Regions from separate parts of the Homo sapiens genome. Here region 2 is linked to region 1. Evidence: promoter capture Hi-C in human tissues and cell types (Jung and others, 2019). All regions are on one chromosome and are shown on one strand. The core of a region is centred on a gene start or on the middle of the fragment in contact, and the rest is flanking DNA. Distances in the headings are between cores, read along the strand shown. Region 1 holds the start of ZNF605 (zinc finger protein 605). Region 2 overlaps ZNF26 (zinc finger protein 26).

Evidence for each region. Contacts are between HindIII fragments. The study calls those that stand out against the background at their distance.
Region 2: a contact is called between a fragment that was not itself captured here and the fragment with the promoter of ZNF605 in region 1, in 2 of the 25 tissues and cell types used here (IMR-90 fibroblasts and stomach).

Annotation. Positions count from the first base shown.
Region 1 is chr12:132,955,041-132,957,740 of GRCh38, forward strand. ZNF605 (zinc finger protein 605) reads right to left here and starts at 1,266. Exons shown (of 5, transcript NM_183238.4): 1 at 1,203-1,266. LOC124903064 (a long non-coding RNA gene) reads left to right here and starts at 1,509. Exons shown (of 2, transcript XR_007063552.1): 1 at 1,509-1,690. RefSeq lists enhancers at 1-814, 243-537, 815-1,643, 1,397-1,476 and a silencer at 897-1,236. The HindIII fragment of the contact is 15,452 bases long and covers 1-2,700 here.
Region 2 is chr12:133,012,390-133,015,089 of GRCh38, forward strand. It overlaps ZNF26 (zinc finger protein 26), which reads left to right. Exons shown (of 4, transcript NM_019591.4): 4 at 1-2,700. Among named protein-coding and RNA genes, the nearest start is that of ZNF84-DT, 23 kb to the right of the region's middle. The HindIII fragment of the contact is 5,610 bases long and covers 1-2,700 here.

The sequences.
Region 1 (2,700 bases), core at 16-2,515:
CAAATAAAACATACAACTGGACAGAGCAAAGAAAGACGGTTCCAAAGGGTTATTGGAAGTGGGGAAAAAAAGACGCGGAAGAGGGTTGGGAAGGGGAAGGAGAACGGGCTTCTGGGAAGAACCGTGAAGCCACGAGACTCACGTGCATCTCTGCAAGGCAAAAAGGGTTTTTCTTTCACAGAGAGGTGTGAACAAGGTTAGCAAAGACCAGGCCTGGCCAAGCGAGGTGGAAGTGCGGGCGACCAGACAGCAGAGCGGGGAAAGCTTGACCCTGAGCCAGCCTGTTCTCAGGCGAGGCTGCGTGTTGGCTCAGGCTGGGGATGGGCCAAAGCTCAAGAAAATGGGGAAAGGAAAGAAGCTTAGCTAAAGTTTGCTTAAGGAGCATTTTGCTCCGACCGCTCGGTGGAGTTCAGCCAGTCACCGATGAGGCAAGCGACGGCAACGTGGCAGGTCTGTGTGAACAAGGGGCATCCTGGAGGCTGACCAAAGTCATATAGGGAACGGGAGATCTTTGCAGTGAGCCATTTGCTGGAACCCAAAAGGGTGGGAAATTCCTCAACCTTCGCTGTTTTCCAGGAGCACAGGGCTCTGGTGAAATCCAACACTGTCACAGCCGGCAGGCTTTCCAGTGAATGGAACCCACACAAGCAAGCCCCTAAGCCCTCCAACGCAGGCCCCCGCAGAAGCCTCATCATTCACCCCGCTGGCCTCCAATGCTCACCCAAAGGCATCCAAATCATTCATCAGCAGAGTCCTAATCGCTGCAGACAAATCCTCCACACGGCCTCCCAGGGGCCCCTCTCCCCTGGGGCCAAGGGCAACCTCGCGTCCCCTTGCCCCGCCCGTGCTGCACCCCAAGTCTACAGCGACCTCCATAGGCCCCCAGTGAATCGCCCAGCTGACCCCAAATCTCCCCCGACACCCACATTCAGCGCCCCGCCGCCGCCCGCCCTACAGCCCCCACCCCACCCTCTGCCTCCCACCCCCGCGCGCCCCCAGAGCCCCCGCCTGAGGCCCGCCTTCCGCGCATGCGCCCAGGCCGGTCCGCAGGCCTTTCTCGCCCCAGCCGGCAGCCAGCTCGTTCGCGCTGGGGTCACCGCGAGCCGGTCCGCAGCGGGGTCACCGCGATCCCCGGCGCAGACACAGAGGCCGCCCCCAGCCCCGCCGCCTCGTGGTCCCGCCCCCGCTGCACGCTCCCTTACCCCTCGGACCTCGCAGGGCCGCGGCGGACACGGCCCGATCGGGGACGTGAACGCGCAGAACTACATTTCCCAGCGTCCCGCTCGCGCTGGAACTACACTTCCCGGGGGGCTCGGCGGTGCACCCGCCGGGGTCGCGGATTGGAGGTTTCCGGTTGGAAAAGCCCCTTGGCGGCTAACTGGGGAGGACTGGAAGAAATCTAGGATGGAGCCAGCACTGCTGGCCCAACATGTCTGTGAGAGAACCTAAAGGCGCCTCCAGGAGGAAGCGTCTGCATCTTTTCCTTGTTTTTTTTTTTTTTTTTTTTGGAGGCAGGGTCTCGCTCTGTCACCCAGTGGGGAGTGCAGTGGTGCCATGAACGCTCATTGCAGCCTCAGGCTGGTCTCCGACTCCTGGGTTCAAATGATCCTCCTGCCCCAGCCTCCCAAAATGCTGGAATTACAGGCATGAGTCACTGCGTCCGGCTGCTTTTCCATTTTTCATCGTAGCTGTAAGTAATATCGGTAAATGTTAGTGTTACGTGCGTCCGTATAGGAGACCACCTGAGCAGGCTAAGTGTGAGCAACACGCCTGTTTATTCACTTGGGTGCAAGTGGGCTGAGTCTGAGAAAGGAGTCAGCGGAGGGTGGTGGGCTTGTCATTGGTTCTTATAGCTTTGGGATAGGATAGGCGGTGGAGTCAGCAGCAATTTTTTTTTTTTTTTTTTTTTTTGAGACAGAGTCTCACTCTGTCGCCGAGGCTGGAGTGCAGTGGCGCGATCTCGGCTCACTGCAAGCTCCGCCTCCCGGGTTCACGCCATTCTCCTGCCTCATCCTCCTGAGTAGCTGGGACTACAGGCACCCGCCACCACGCCCGGCTAATTTTTTTGTATTTTTAGTAGAGACGGGGTTTCACTGTGTTAGCCAGGATGGTCTTGATCTCCTGACCTCGTGATCCGCCCTCCTCGGCCTCCCAAAGTGCTGGGATTACGGGCGTGAGCCACCGCGCCCGGCCTCAGCAGCAATTTTTTGCGGGCAGGGGAGGATGTTACAAAGTACATTCACAAGGGCGGGGAGGGTGTATTGTCACAAGGGCGGAGAGGAATGTTACAAAGTACATTCACAAGGACCGGGAATATTACAAAGTACATTATCACAAGGGTGGGGGAATGTCACGATGGCTTGACCATGGTGCGGCCAGCTCAGAGGACCTTACATTTAGTACATCCAATCCAGCAGTATTGACAAAAGGAATGAAAATAGATGATAGGGTTGGGCGCGGTGGCTCACGGCTGTAATCCCAGCACTTTGGGAGGCTGAGGTGGGCGGATCACCAGGTCAGGAGATTGAGACCATCCTGGCCAACACGGTGAAACCCCGTCTCTACTAAAAATACAGAACATTAGCTGGGCGTGGTGGTGGGCGCCTGTAATCCCATCTACTCGGGAGGCTGAGGCAGGAGAATCACTTGAACTCGGGAGGCGGGGGTTGCGGTGAGCCATCATGCCGCTGCACTCTAGCC
Region 2 (2,700 bases), core at 193-2,692, 58 kb after region 1:
TTTGTACATGAACCAGAAAATGTGGGAACTCATTCATTCTTGTCCCAGAATTCTGTTGAGAACATCCATTCATTCTGGCTAATTGATTACAAGAATAACTGTGGATACGATCCCTTTAGAACCTGCTTCTCTGATCTGTGTGTTTCCTCACTTCTCAATAAAAATGTCTTTTGCTTTTTGTTGTTTGGGTTTTTTTTTTTTTTTTTTTTTTTTTTTTTTTGAGACTAAGTTTCACTCTTGTCCTCCAGGCTGGAATGCAATGGCATGATCTCAGCTCACTGCAACTTCCACCTCCTGGGTTCAAGCAATTTCCTTGCCTCAGCCTCCCAAGTGGCTAGGATTACATGCCTGGCTAATATTTGTATTTTTAGTATAGACGGGGTTTCACCATGTTGGCCAGGCTGGTCTTGAACTCCTGACCTCAGGTGATCTGCCCACTTCAGCCTCCCAAAGTCATGGGATTACAGGTGTGAGCCACCGAGCCCGGCCAGCTTTCTATTTCTTATAACCTAAGGGCTTTAACTGATCAGTTGTTGCCTTGGTAGCATGTAGTTAACAAAGTGGGGTATATGATTTAGGTTTGTTTGTTTTTCCTGAGACAAGAAAATCACATTCTTGTTTATATTTGAAGATAGCAACTTTTAGCCATCATGTGAAATATGGTTATTGTTTCTGTACACCTGGAACGTTGTAGTGCCTGATACTGAAATTTTGGAAACACTGAAGAATTATAGCATTATAAGAATTTTAAATTTATGAGAAAATCTGAGACAGGGGCAGAGATGGCTGATTTTGATCTTGCTGGATCTTAGACCATGAGAATGACAGGCCTGAAGCCCTGAAATCTCACCTCAGGGTGGAGTGTCAGACTTGGCAACTTTGACATTGCTGAAAAAGTTTCTTACAGCTGTAGGAGTGAGGTGGTGGGAATCAAATAGTATATTTGGCTTGGTGAATTAAAGTCAGTTCACCTCAAATGTTTACTAAATCCCTTAATGTAAACATGTGTTGAAAAAGTTATCCTCACCCTTCCCCCCCTCAAAAAGTTATCCCTTGATAATTTGAATAGGAATATCTGGGAAGAACCTGAGGACTCAGCCTAGCAAGCTCTTGTGATAGACTTTGAATAGCAGTATCTGCGAAGAACCTGAGGCCTCAGCCTAGCAAACTCTTCTGATAGACTTTGAATAGGAATGTCTGGGAAGAACCTGAGGACTCAGCCTAGCAAACTCTTCTGATAGACTTTGAATAGGAGTATCTGGGAAGAACCTGAGGACTCAGCCTAGCAAACTCTTCTGATAGACTTTGAATAGGAATGTCTGGGAAGAACCTGAGGACTCAGCCTAGCAAACTCTTCTGATAGACTTTGAATAGGAGTATCTGGGAAGAACCTGAGGACTCAGCCTAGCAAACTCTTCTGATAGACTTTGCACTGCAGATGCTTCATTTAAGGCTATAGAGTAGATGTTGGCAATATATAAAATTCAAACTTGAGTGTCCATAAATAACTGTTGTTGGAACATGGCTAAATATATTTGTGTATTATTTGACTGCTTTTGCACAGCCATGGCACAGTTGAGTAGTTGAGGTATAAAAAACCTGCCACCTCCTGATACAGATAGAACCCCTTCCCTTTTCTGGGAAAATGTGGAATTTGCCTTGCAGGAGGAAGCTTATTCTGCCAGTTCCCCATGGCTTATTTTTACCAGTTTGGTAACAATAATCTACACTAAACATGCCCTGGGATGGGATTGCTCATTTAGGAAAATATGTAGAATTCATAGAGCATTGCAGGAATGAGTAATGTATCAAAACTTCTCAGCATGACAACACCCAGGGCAACGTGACAAAACCCTGTCTACAAAAGTTTCTTAAAAGCTGGTTACAGCGGTGCACACCTGCAATCCCAGCTACTCAGGAGGTTGAGGCAGGAGGATCACTTGAGCCCAGGAGGTCAAGGATGCAGTGAGCTGCACTGTACTCCAGTCTGGGCAACAGTGAGACCCTGTCTCAAAAAAAAAGTTGGGGGAGGGGGTAGATACTTGTGAAATCCTTTGAGGGTGTTCAGTGAAGGGCAATTACTTACAGCATATACTTGGTGCACTGACACCCAGCAGTGATGATGGTTTTGCTTTCTGTTTTTTTTTTTGTTTTGTTTTGTTTTTTTTTTTTTTTGAGACGGAGTCTTGTTCTGTCACCCAGGCTGGAGTGAATTGCACAATCTCGGCTCACTGCAACCTCCGCCTCCTGGGTTCAAGCGATTCTCCTGCCTCAGCCTCCATAGTAGCTGGGATTACAGGTGTGTGCCACCGCGCCTGGCTAATTTTTGTATTTTTAGTAGAGACGGGGTTTCACCACGTTGGCCAGGCTGGTCTTGAATTCCTGACCTCAGGTAATCCACCTGCCTCGGCCTCCCGAAGTGCCGGGATTACAGGCGTGAGCCACCATGCCTGACCATGATGATGGTTTTAAAAGTTAGCTGTAGCAGCTAAGGCAAGACCAGATCCAACACTGGCTTATGGCAAGGGGAAGAACAAAAGTCAGGAACTTTGCCATAATCTAGAAGAAAGAATGATAATGCTTTGTGACATGCTGGATTGTATCCATTATGTGTTCCTAAGACCCTCAGCCCTCTCCCTCCACCAAGACCCAATAAAAGTGTGTTATTGAAAGTAGTAGCTACTGGCCGGGCGTGGTGGC